Linked DNA regions of Homo sapiens: region 1 is linked to region 2. Evidence: promoter capture Hi-C in human tissues and cell types (Jung and others, 2019). All regions are on one chromosome and are shown on one strand. The core of a region is centred on a gene start or on the middle of the fragment in contact, and the rest is flanking DNA. Distances in the headings are between cores, read along the strand shown.

The links. Contacts are between HindIII fragments. The study calls those that stand out against the background at their distance.
Region 1: a fragment that was not itself captured here is called in contact with the fragment with the promoter of TMCC2 in region 2 in 6 of the 25 tissues and cell types used here (bladder, liver, lymphoblastoid cells and 3 more).

Annotation. Positions count from the first base shown.
Region 1 is chr1:205,336,746-205,343,204 of GRCh38, reverse strand. KLHDC8A (kelch domain containing 8A) reads left to right here. Exons shown (of 6, transcript NM_018203.3): 3 at 3,397-3,561; 4 at 3,796-4,011; 5 at 4,609-4,710; 6 at 5,613-6,459. The coding sequence ends at 5,806. Among named protein-coding and RNA genes, the nearest start is that of KLHDC8A, 17 kb to the left of the region's middle. RefSeq lists a silencer at 3,226-3,275. The HindIII fragment of the contact is 5,653 bases long and covers 1-4,762 here.
Region 2 is chr1:205,224,825-205,231,556 of GRCh38, reverse strand. It overlaps TMCC2 (transmembrane and coiled-coil domain family 2), which reads right to left and starts at 3,611. Exons shown (of 5, transcript NM_014858.4): 1 at 2,786-3,611. The coding sequence starts at 2,992. RefSeq lists a silencer at 3,511-3,690 and an enhancer at 3,821-3,960. The HindIII fragment of the contact is 10,382 bases long and covers 1-6,732 here.

The sequences.
Region 1 (6,459 bases), core at 687-3,186, 110 kb before region 2:
GGCCAGAGAGAAGGAAGTGGGGGGCCAGGAGGGAAACAGATGGAAACCAACAGGCATTTGCTGTGGGCTGTGGAGTTTAGTGCCATATTTCTGCAGACCCCATGCGTTCAGCAAAATGCCTGCACCTCCCGCCGCCACACCCCAGCCCCTGAAACCTGCCTTGCCTTGCAGGTGCCACCACCCCCAGACACCTATTTGGGGTCCTGACAATGCTCACTCCATCCTTGTAGCGTCACCAGGCCCCACTGAGAGGGCTTTGGGACCTGATTCCAGGGGCCTCTTCCACCTTCAACCTGCCCCTCTGCCTCCCAATCTCAGAGACGCTCAGTGGAGACCAGAATGTTCCTGAGGGTTCATGTCTGGCCGCGTTTCACTAAGTCCTCAGGGCATGCATGTCCTCACTACATGGTTTTGTGATTCTCATTTTCCTTTCTCAAAGCCCCCATTTCATTCTTTTCACGCCTAGTACAGCCCAGAACCTAGAGCTCCGAAAGCTCTTTTGCTAAAACACAAAGGGTTTTGTGGGAGATGGTTCAATGGGAATTAGGAGACACCAAGTTCAGACACACCTGAGCAGCACAGGCTTGCAGTGGGATGCAACCTTCCCTCCGTCTCCTCTTCCTCCCTCCCTCTTTTGCTAAACCATACTAGCTGCATGTCAAGTCTACTATAGATTGGGAACCAGTATTTCTTGAGCACCTGCTCTGTCCCCAGCACAGTGCCAGGCTCCAGGAGGGAAGGAAAGAGGCGGAAGATCTGTTCCCTGCCTTCAGGAGCCTGGATCTGACCAATGAAAGTAACTAGAGAGAAACTCTAGTGCAGAATCCCCCAGGGCAGCATGGCCAGTGGGGCTTCTGTGACCTCCCAGTAAGAAGGATGGAAGGCCTGGAGGCCCACGGAGAGCAAGGGAGGGAAAGAGCACATCTTCATCCCAGGCCTCAGTAAATGGTCTTGAAAGATTAAGAACTAACATTCATTGAATCCTTACCATTTGTGCTTTGTATACAGGTAAGTGCTAGTATTACTCTGATTTTAGAGAGAAGCAGTGTAAGGCCCAAAGAGTTAGTTAAAACACTGGCCCAAGGTGACACAGATAGTGATGATTGAGTCTGTGCTCTTACTATGGCACTGAATGGGTTCTGCAGTTAGTTTAATAAGCATTTACATGCCTGTGTGCCAGGCATTGTGCCAGATGCTGGGGCTGTAGATTTAACAAATTCTCAACGGCCTACAGTCTATTGAAAGAAACAAAGATTGGCCGGGCGCGGTGGCTCACGCCTGTAATCCCAGCATTTTGGGAGGCTGAGGCGGGCGGATCATGAGGTCAGGAGATCAAGACCATCCCAGCTAACATGGTGAAACCCGTCTCTACTAAAAATATAAAAAATTAGCCTGGCACAGTGGCGGGCGCCTGTAGTCCCAGCTACTCGGGAGGCTGAGGCAGGAGAATGGCGTGAACCTGGGAGGCAGAGCTTGCAGTGAGCCGAGATCGCGCCACTGCACTCCAGCCTGGGTGACAGAGCAAGACTCCGTATCAAAAAAAAAAAGAAAAAGAAACAAAGATTATTCAGTAACAGGTGGCAATTAGGGTGATGGAATAGGGTAACAGAAGGCACTGAGCCGGTGCTGTCGACCCAGGCTTGTAGTTCAGGGACGCCCAGATGGGTCTGAAAGGATGAGTAAGAATTGGGCACAAAAACAGTAGTGAGGAGTGGATGGGAGGATTCCCAGGAGGAGGAGTTTCAAGTAACACAGGATGGGAGGGGTGGATCTTGTGCAAGGTGAATTCCTCATTAGCAGGCACCGTCTTCCAGCCTCAGGCTAGGGTTGGCATTTTTTTTTTTTCCAATAAGATTGGAAAGTAGGAGGAAATAGTACTCATCCCTACAATCACCTTAAGAATAAAGGCCTCCTGGAGCCAGAAGCATTGAGGACTGGCTGCTGGCAGACAGAATCCCGGGCAGGGGTGGCTCCCTGAGAAAGAGAGGCCTGGGAGGTCCTGGGGTGGGACCCAGGGAAACACAGATGCCTTGCCCATCCTCTCTGGTGTAGTGAAGTCCTTTGAAAGGCCACCTACAGTCAAGAGTAGTAGAGAATGAGAGGAGACTCACTTCTCAAAGTATCCCAGCTCACTTCCTGGGCAGGGTTTCTTAAAGGGACCAGTACTCTCTCCAAAGCTTCACCCTCATTCACCCCTAGCCCTATCTCATTTAGTTGAAGTGACTCCTGGATCCCACAAGTTTCCCAATTTGTGAAGGAAGATGGCATTCCCCAATGGGGCTGGCAGACACAGAACCAGCAGCAGTCCAGTGTCCCATAGGCCAGTGACAGCATGACTCATCTTATTTCTAAAGGCCCCTGCCATATCTAAAAATGCCAGTTTGTGAATGCCTGGGGAAAGGGCATCAGAAGAATATCTCTACTCATTGAAGCCAGGCGTGGTGGCTCATGCCTGTATTCTCAACACTTTGGGAGGCCAAGGCAGGTGGATCACCTGAGGTCAGGAGTTTGAGACCAGCCTGGCCAACACGGTGAAACCCCGTCTCTACTAAAAATACCAGGTGTGGTGGCAGGCATCTGTAATCCCAGCTACTCTGGAGGCTGAGGCAGGAGAATCGCTTGAACCCGAGAGGCAGAGGTTGCAGTGAGCTGAGATCACACCATTGCACTCCAGCCTGGGCAACAAAACAAGACTCTGTCTCAAAAAAAAAAGAATACCTCTCCTCTTTGGCTTCCCCTCTGGCTGCCCAGGGAGGACAGTGAAGGGGATAAGACCTGCAAAGGGTTTTCCAGGCCTAAACTTCACGCAGTGTTTCAGGCTTAGCCAAAGGGCTGGACACTAAGGAAGACTAGGGCGTGTAGTCGTACCATGGCTTCAAAAGACCCAGGCAGCTGGGCACAGTCGCTCACACCTGCAATCCCAGCACTTTGGAAGGTCGAGGCAAGAGGATTGCTTGAGCCCCGGAGTTCGAGACCAGCCTGGGCAACATGACAAAACCCTGTCTCTACAAAAAATACAAAAATTAGTCAGGTGTGGTGGCATGGACCTGTAGTCCCAGCTACTTGGGAGGCTGAGATGGGAAGATCTCTTGAGCCCAGGAGGTCAAGGTTGCAGTGAACCATGATTATGCCACACTCCAGCCTGGATGACAGAATGAGACCATATCTAAAAAAATAATAATAATAAAAATAAAAAAAAAGAAACAGACTCTCAGGCTTAGCTATAGCAGGAACTTCTTTGAATGGTGCTATCAACCACACTGATACAGATATGACTCACTCTGGCTGAGCAGTGGTTGAAAGCTTGGCCTGGCCATGGGAGGCAATAGATGCTGGTGGGCCTGTCTTGCTGTACCTGTGAGCTAAGCCAGGGGCATGTATGGCCTTTCTTCTTAGATTACCGAGTATATGCGGCAGGCGGGATGGGCCTGGACCTACGTCCACACAACCACCTCCAACACTATGACATGCTGAAGGACATGTGGGTGTCCCTAGCACCCATGCCCACCCCGAGATATGCTGCCACCTCCTTCCTCCGAGGCTCCAAGATCTACGTGCTGGGTAAGGACAGGTTACTGTTCTATACCTACCCTCCTTCCTTCCCTTGGCTCAGTTCCCATAGGAAGCAGTGCCTGTGTGCTGAGCATCTCCTCGGCACTGGGGATAATCACACTGCCCAGCCCACCGGGAGCTTCCTGTATGAATGAGTAACTGTCAAAAGGGGAAACCCTTTTCACTGTCGCTGTCCTCAGGGACAACCCTTCTGCCCAACCTCTATCCTGCTCTGGCCCCCAGGGGGACGACAGTCCAAGTACGCGGTCAACGCTTTCGAGGTCTTTGACATCGAGACTCGCTCCTGGACCAAGTTTCCCAACATTCCCTATAAGCGGGCCTTCTCCAGCTTTGTGACCCTGGACAACCACTTGTACAGCCTAGGAGGCCTGCGGCAAGGTCGCCTCTACCGGCAGCCCAAGTTCCTGCGGACGATGGACGTGTTCGACATGGAACAGGGTGAGCTGGTCACCTTCCCCAGGAAGCTCTGGCTGCCCACTGCCCTTCTGGCTGGCTCCCCATCCCTTACCCCTATTCCAGCCATCTTCCAGGGCCGTTTACCCAGCTGGGCAAGCTTCTCAGAAGTCTCAGCACCCCTCTCCACTCAGGGCTACTCTTGGAATCAAATTCCTTCATTGGTATAGGTCCCCTTTTTGCTTGGTTGGTTTTTATCAAAGCCCCTTTTCTACCTATATTGTCTTTTCTTACAATATTCACACAGGACCAGGTCAGAGAGGGATTTTTCTTACTTTTTACTGATGGAGAAACAGAAGGATCCTGACTCCTCCCTCACTGCCTCTATTAGCCTCCTAACCAGAAGTCAAGGTGATTCATTGTAGGGGATGATGATGCCTTACAGAGCAGCAAGCATGGGAGAGGGGGAAGCCACAGAGAATTTGAAACAGCAGGAGGAACTGTGTACTCCCCAAGCATAAAGGATAAATAGAGTGAAGACACTGCCCAGGGTGAAAGCTATTTGGGCCACAATCTGCATTTGGTGGGAGTGGTCTGTATCTTATTCTGTCTATATAACCCACCATTATCCATGGCCTATAGGGGGATGGCTGAAGATGGAACGATCGTTCTTCCTCAAGAAGCGGCGGGCAGATTTTGTGGCTGGCTCTCTGAGTGGACGGGTCATAGTGGCTGGGGGACTTGGTAAGGATGGCGCTTTCACGCTGGAATTTATTGTGGTTCTGGTGCTCAGTGGATCCTTGGCACTTTGCATATGCAGGAAAGGGTACTGACTCCCTGCAGACCACCTGCCTACCACTATACTCCAAAAAATTCGAAGCACTCCCTTTCTTCCAGCCTAGATATTACCTATCCACTGTGGGCCCCAGGTGTGGCCTTTCTGTCCTCCTACACAGGGAAACTGTGACGCAGAGAGAATAAGGGACACCCGTAGCCGTGCAGCACAGGCTTACTGAGCACAGATCCCTAAACGGGAATGACTGGAGACAAACTGTGGAGGGGATTAGCCTTGGTCCTCCTCTGACCAGTCTCTTATCCTGTTCCAGCCCAATCGTGGAACAGGAAAGCAATCTGATTAAATAAGTTCAACAGATGAATCTTGGGTTTGATGTATTAACTCTGCCAGAGATTACTAGTATTTTGAAGGAGGGACTCTAAAGCGAGAAGTTCCCCATCATCAAGGAAGAGAGATCCAGGCAGCAGGGCTTCCAGGTACCCCAAGTCTACTTAGTGTGGACAAACTCCCACTTTACTCAGGCATGAAGGAACCGTGTCAACTAGACCATGTCAGTAGCTTTTTTAGGAAAGGGCAGCAGTGAGGCAGTAGTGTGCTAGAAAGCTCTGGTAAAAAGCAATGGGTAGGGAAAGAAAGCTTACTCTTAAAGAGACAGGAAGACGGTAGGAGGGACAAAGTGGCTGCTTGACAAAAGCCACTGGCTTAGTAAAGGGAGTAATCCTGTAGCCAAGGAAGTTGACCTTGCTTGGCTTCTGCTTGTGGGTGCCGAAGGGAGGGAGGTGGGGTGACCGTGGGGCATGGATTGGTGGTTGGACTCCTTTGTAAGGTCTGATTCCCTTGACACTTTCAGGGAATCAACCCACTGTCCTGGAGACGGCGGAAGCATTCCACCCAGGGAAGAACAAATGGGAGATCCTCCCTGCCATGCCCACACCCCGCTGTGCCTGCTCCAGCATAGTCGTCAAGAACTGCCTCCTCGCCGTGGGAGGTGTCAACCAGGGTCTGAGTGACGCAGTGGAGGCCCTGTGTGTCTCTGACTCCTAGCTGTCTCTGGGCTCAGTACCTTTGCCCTGGACCATATCACTTCACTCTTAACATGAGGAATGATCTTGTCCAAGCAGTCGGGGCTACTTCCAAGAATGTCAGCTCCTGTTAGCAACCAGTGGAGTCTGGCCTTGGGGCTCTAAGTTGACCTCTCTATAGCTCCAAATCCTACCAATCTCAGAAAACTGTAAGAGGCACAGATGACTCCACCAGCTGCAGAGCTGACTCTGAAGAGAGTCTTCACTTACTGCACAGGCAAAGAAAGGCACAGGAATATTTCCTACCTCTCCCTCCTGTGAGTCCCACCTCCCCCCACCCCCATCTCCAGGAGGCAGGTAGAGCAGTTCTGACCGAGAGGATAGACTGCTGTTGCTGTCTTTCCCCAGCTCTGAACTAGTTTTAAGGTAGCTTAGGATGAAAAATGGAGAATGATTGGGGGTTCCAAACCACTTTCTTCTCCCTTGGCTTATATCTCTTCACCATTTGGTGGTCAACTGTGGGCCTACCCTGGACCTCATCTACTCAGCGAGAATTGGACATGAAGCTAGAGGCAGCTGCCTTGGAAGGGAAGTCAGGCTCACTTGGACAGCCCAGGCCATGGCAGGAAGAATCCCTTCCTCTTGGGGTCCTTGATGGGCATGTGTGATGGGGAA
Region 2 (6,732 bases), core at 2,362-4,861:
GGGAGAATGAGGCAGGAGTTTCGCTTGAGTCCAGGAGTTCAAGACCAGCCTAGGCAATATAGCAAGACCCTGTCTCTACAAAAAATTTAAAAATTAACCAGGCATGGTGGCGTGTGCCTGTAGTACCAGCTACTTGGGAGGCTGAGATTGGGGAGTCACTTGAGCCTGGGAGTTTGAGACTGCAGTGAGTCGTGGTCATGCTACTGCACTCTAGCCTGAGTGACAGAGCAAGACTCTGTCTCAAAATAAATAAATAAATAAGTTTGGACACACTCCGATATTCCTAGTCCCTTTCACCAGAAAAAGGCTCGGAAAAGTTGAGTGATTTGCCCAAGACCACACAGCAAATCAAACTGTGAAAGTCCCCAAGTCACATCTGGTTGGAAGTCCCTTGCACCCGGTAGTAAACATGTTGTGATGAAGCAGACAGAGATAAACAGGAAAAGCCCTGCTTGTTTCCCCATGCTCCCACAAGCAGGCTGCAGCTGGGTTTTCTGCTCCTTACTGGGTCCACATTGCTGGGTTCAATGGTATGTTTTCTCTGGGGGCGGGGGGGGGGATGGGGGGATGGGGTGGATGGGGGCGCGGGGTAAGGGGAAGCCTCCTTTTCTTACACCTGATTTCAATTCTGGTTGAGGGCAGTTCGGCAGTTAATATCAAGTGTAAAGTTGTTACTACATCTGCCCCTGACCAGAATGAGGGCACTGCCAAAAAAAAAGAAAGAAAGAAAGAAAAAAAAGATAATACAGGAGAGTGGAAACGTGGCATCCCTTAAGGCGTCCCTCTACAGAGACACTGCAGCCCCCATGCCATGACCAACCCATCTTCCTCATGAAGGCAACTGGGGGAATAAATGGAGAAAGCAGTTTCCACTGCTGTCCTGAGTTGGAGAGTGGGGAATTTCCAAAGCTGCCTCTCACAGACTCAGCTGAGGGTCTCATTGGTCAAAGATTCAGGGTTTGCTGGCCAGACTCATCTGGACCGGCTCAGAATGAGGCTGAAGTCTGCAGCAGAAGGCTAGCCTCCTCCCCACAACAGCATTCAAGAGACCCCTTCCCCCTCACCATCTCACTTAAAACAGGAACTACACCTCCTGACCACATGGGATGGACTCGGGGGTGACAGCAGAGATAAACACCAAGGACTCCCTGGGCCTGGCAAAAGCTCAAGCTTCTTGTGCAGAGAGAGCCTATCCCACAGAGATCCTCTAGACATAAGTCTAGCCACGAAGCTCTGAAAAGGACGGCGGCAGAACCAGAGTTCAGATTTGAATAATTACTGCAAAGTTTAAAAAACACACACAACAATAACCTAGTCGTCCCCCTTTTCACTCCTCCCCAAGGCACACAGACAGGTAACATACACAGGTAAGAGCACACACACTCACCTGCGCTCTGACTTCCTGACTCTGAGCTGCTCAGGCCAAATGAGGAATGGCATTGGCTTATTCTGGTGAGCTCCTTAGTGGCTGCTGCCATAGGATATAGGCTTTATTAAATGCAACAGAGTCCTTTCCGTTTCCCTAGCCCAGACCCTGCACCTTCTCTGGAGAAAATAACTGTGAGGCATCAATTTCCAAGGCATCTAAGTTCCTTCCTTGGGCTGACATCTCGCTCAGCTGGACGGTGAGCTGGCTTGAGAAGCCTGAGCCTGCAGTCCCTGTGGCAGTTCCGGCAAAGGTGCATTATTTATCTCAGCTGCTGTTTTAATTGATAGAGATATATTCAAGACAGCTCGCCAATTGTCTCGGCAACCTCAGGCCGGAAAATAAACAGCTCCATGTGAACAGTTCTTTCGGCTTCTGGTTCTAGCTGCTGGCTCAGCATGTATGCAACTTGAACTGAGGCCCCAAACCAGCCCAAGCACTGCTCCACCACCTGTCAGTTCTCCACCCTGGGGGTTGGTTCAGCAGGCAGGCAGAGATCTCCAAGCACTATCTTAACCTCTGGCTCCACCTAACGGCAGGAAATCCACCTTCCCCCCCCGCCCCCGCCACCACCCCCCCCCCCCCGCCCCTTCACAGATCGGCAAACTGAGCTTCATCCAGGAAAGCGCTCAAAGATCCCAATGGGGCCCGGCACGGTGGCTCACGCCTGTAATCCCAGCACTTAGGAAGGCCGAGGCGGGTAGATCACCTGAGGTCAGTTCAAGACCAGCCTGGCCAACATGGCGAAACCCCGTCTCTACTAAAAATACAAAAATTACCCGGGCGTGGTGGCGGGTGCCTGTAATCCCAGCTACTCTGGAGGCTGAGACAGGAGAATCGCTTGAACCGAGGAGGTGGAGGTTGCAGTGAGCCGAGATCGCGCCACTGCACTCCAGCCTGGGCGACAGAACGAGACTCCGTCTCACACACATACACACACACACACACACACACACACACACACACACACACACACAAAGATCCCAATGGGTAGAGACTTACTCAGCAAGGAAAACTAATGGTCACCTGCTGTCCACTTTTTGGTTAGCATCTTGGATTTCTCCAGCCCTTTGTCTGCGAATAACACTTCACACATTATTCAAACAATCTCGGATGGGTGAGTCACTAAAACGCTTGCTGAATAATGGGGAACAAACACAGAGACCTGACACGGAGCTGAAAGACAGAGGCATAAATGGTACCTGACGTCCCCCCTGGGGTGCCAGCAAAGCATCCGCTCATCCTCTCTGACCTTTGCCTGGCTTCCCCCCTCACTTTTATCCTGTTAAAGCACTTCTGCGTGGGGTGGCGAGAGCTAAGTCGCGGGCTGGGCTTGCCGGGGGGATGGTCTGCGCTCACCTTTAAATCAGGAGGCTTGCTTCGGGGACCTGGGTTGGGCGCCGCGGCAGCGCCGGCGTCTGAAGTTGGCCCGCCAGCAGAGTTAGCACCCGTGGTCTCCCCAGGCCGGAGGTCCGCGCCCGGCAGGTGGGAAGCGGCATCTTCCAGCCCAGCTCCATCCTCCTCGCCCTGTTGTTGCTGCAGCTCGTCCGATCTGCACCTCTTCATGGTGTATGTGGGTCGGCAAGGGGAATCTGTCCTTCCAGCGCGCCGTCTTGGGGAAGACCGCACCCCCTCTTATATTCATATGAGGCCTGGGGTCTAAATTATTAACAAGGAGGGGAGATGGCAGACCACAATTTCTTGAATTAAAAAAAAAATTCTTAAAGGCGGGTGAGGGAGGGGCGAGAAGGGGGAGCCTTGGTTATAGCTTGGAATAGTTCATTTCGACCTGGGGAGCGAAGACAGGTCACAGTCGAGGCTGGGCAGCAAGAGTCCTTGGGCAGTCATTGCAGGAGGGAGAAGGGAGACAACCCCCGGCCCCCAAACTTTCTGCTTCAGGGCATGGGCAGGACGGAGAGGAGCTGGGCGGCACAGCGCATCCCTCCCGGCCGGCCGGGCTGCGGGGCGAGGCGGGGCGCGGGGCAGCCGGCCGGGCAGGTCCTAGTCGGCCGCCATCGGCGCCGGCTGCAGCCCCCGGCCCTGCAACCGGCCCCTGCCCCGCATGGTCCGGCCGCGGAGCCCGCAGCGCGCCCGGCCCCCTCCCCGGCCCGCGCGCCCCGCTCCCCGCCTGACGCGCAGCCTGCCGCAAAGCCGCGACCGCGGCCCGAGCCCGCGGCGAGCGCGCAACCTACCCCGCCCGGCTGCCTCCGCCCGGGAGCGGGAAGGCGAGGCTAGGAGGGAGTGACAGCGGCAACCGGCCAATGGGAAGCCCGCGGGGCTGAGGGGGCGTCGCGCAGCTTCGTTTTTGGGGTTGGTTGCACCGTGCGATCCCCCAGGAGAGGGCTGGAGGACGATGCTGCTGCGTTTTTGCATTGCAGAGAGCGGGCTGCAGTTCAGGGGCGGGGGCGGCGGGCGTGGGAGTCGCAGTTTCGGCTCCAGCTTGAGGGACCCTGCCGAGGAGGGCTCGCCCAGGATTTCCTCCACCCATTCGCTTTATTTGGCGAGAAGGAGCACAAGAGGGATGTTTATTATCACTGCTTTTTGGGGCTCTTAACTTTGCACCTTCTAGCCATAAGGGAGACACCTATCCCCTCTAGGATACTTGGTCTGAGTTAAATCTATGCCTACATTCAGAGCTGCAAATGCCAAGGGGAGGGGGCGTTCTCTCCTCATCGCCCCGTCCCCCGCTTTAAGTGCATTATTTCTTAATGAGACTTTACTTGGCATAATTTATGCTCAGAAATTGGGAAGAATTTCATATAAAAACACAATAACGTATGTGAGAGTTCCTTACAAACTGTGAAGCAGCTTTTAAATAAGAAAGGGTATTAATGGCAGGAGGTTGCTACATATAGATGTGTGGAAAGGGAATGCTGTCTCTCTTTGCATAAATCTCAGCCAAACTGTGCTGAGTAATCTGGAAGCAGAAGAGAGCAAACGTTGGGGTTACCAAGATATGGAGAGTAGTAATAATAACAACCCCATCTGAGTGTCTATTGTATGCCTCCTGTGGACACAATGGATTTTACTCATCCAGCAACCAGTGGTTCACAAATTGTGATCCTTGGACTAGCAACTTCAGCATCACACGGGAACTTGATAGAAATGCAAATTCTTGGCCACCAGCCAGACCTAGAGAATCAGAAGTAGTGAGCCAAGAAATCTGTGTTTTGACAAGCCCTCCAGGTAATTCTGACACACACTACCCTTTGAGAACCACTGGCCTAGACAGTGAAGGGGCCACACGGTCTCTAAAGGATTTTACAGTTTACCAATCTCTTTCGCACCCATCATGCCATTGTAGCCTCACTTCAGTCTCACTAGTCGGAGTTTCTTGACTTTCTGTTCTGTCTTCTTCCCATTCCAACCACTCATTTTAATGTGTATCCTAGAAGAGACTAATTTGTTAAGAATTTACTTCAGCCAAGCAGCTACTTTCTAAACTAGGCAGCTCCACTTTTAGAAGATAGGAATTTAGGATGGGCTGGGAATGTGGAACCACCCCCCACATCTACCACAAAGAATCGAGCACAATGTGGAAACACAAAGCTATAAGCCTTTATTTAGCATTTTCAATGGTGAGGGGATGGCAGGATGCCAGTGTAGACCGTGGGCAGGACTAGACAGAACCGGTGGGGGCAGGTTCCCATGGTGCAAGGTTTCAAGCAGAGGAATATACTGCTCCCTGCCTGACTTGGCCCAGATAAGTGCAGCGGCCCCAAAGACCCTGAGCAAGTCTTGAGGGGCACGCGGTGGCCAGCAAATGGTGAGCATGCATTGACACATGTTCATGACCTGACTCGAAGCCGAAGGAAAGTGAAGGGATTTGGTTTAAGGAAGGGATTTGGTTTCGTTTAAGGAAGCAGAGAGCATTATAATTTTGAATTATGCCTCATTTCTATACTAGATAAAAGTTGGTCTTAAGTTTGATTTTTATATTATCATATACATACAGCATGACAGCCACATTTTCTACTTGTCGTCATATTTGCAAGGTGTGATTCAGGTCAGCAAAAAAGTCTGTGGTGTGTTTCATAAAATCAGCTAATACTTTACATTCCATTTTGGAGAGGCATCATAGCATAATGGTTAAGAGCTCAGGCTCTATGGCCAGATAGGGGACAAATCCTAGCTCTGCTCTTCACTGACCATGTGAGTGGGGACACGTTATCTAACCTCTTCATGCTCCAGTTTCTGAATTATTTGGAAGTAGGGATAATGACAGTACCTACCATACAGGGTGTTGGGTAATATATGTAAAGCACTTGGACATTGCCTAGCAAAGAATGAGGGCCATAGCTATAACCACAGATGTCATCCAGTTTCAGAAGTGTTGCACATTTCACTCCAATGCTTCTATCTTCAGGAGTTCAAATGTGTCCCACCAATTTCTGACTTTCACTGAGTGTCATATTATGGAATAAGTGTGCTACTGCCAAAGAAGTTTGGCTGAGAAGTCTGTGTAGAGACCTGAGTGACCTATAACCACCAGTTTGAAGCCAATGGCAAATTTTCATTAGCCGCAGCAAATTCTTGAGCACCTAAGAAAATCAGAACTTGAAAGTACTTTGGTTGGTTGAAATTTTGTTTACGGCATTAGATTATTCTATCATTCTACGTTTCTTTGGGAAAATATAGGCACAAATTATGTTTTGATATTCAAGATTAGACAAAAGTTTGCAGATACACAATGCAAGTGATTATATTTTCTATGTAGGAGTAGCATTTCCATTCTGTTTTGGCACACCTAGTTAATTACAAGGAAATAACATGATTTAGTGGGAAGAACATTGGTCTTGGTGTCAGAAAATTCATGTAAGCATTCTAGTTCGGTTACTTCTTGTGAGCTTAACCTCTTTCACCCTCGGTTTTCTCATCTATAAACCAGGGCTAATACTATCTATCTTCACTGGTTATTGTGAGGATGAAGGTAGATAATGCACGTGAAAATGCTTGACACATGGTATATGTGCAGTAAAACTAAGTGAAACAAAAATAATTAACTTGTCCAAGCCCCCCATATACCATATGAGAAAGAGAATTATCCCAATAAGCTGAATGCTTTTTGTGAACAGAAATCCCAGTTAAACTAATGAAAGGGAGCACTCTGGTAGTATCAAATTTGCTAAACCAATAAGTATACACACAAGGAGTATAAAGGGCAGAATTATGGAATCCTGCTCTCTTGTCAACACCCAGTTCATTTAGTTTGATAAATGGTTGAAGCTTTCATTATAGAGGATAAGGTGCCAAGATTAACAAAGTGTAGAGTAGGGTTTTGTTTTGTTTTCTTTCTTTTTGTAAAA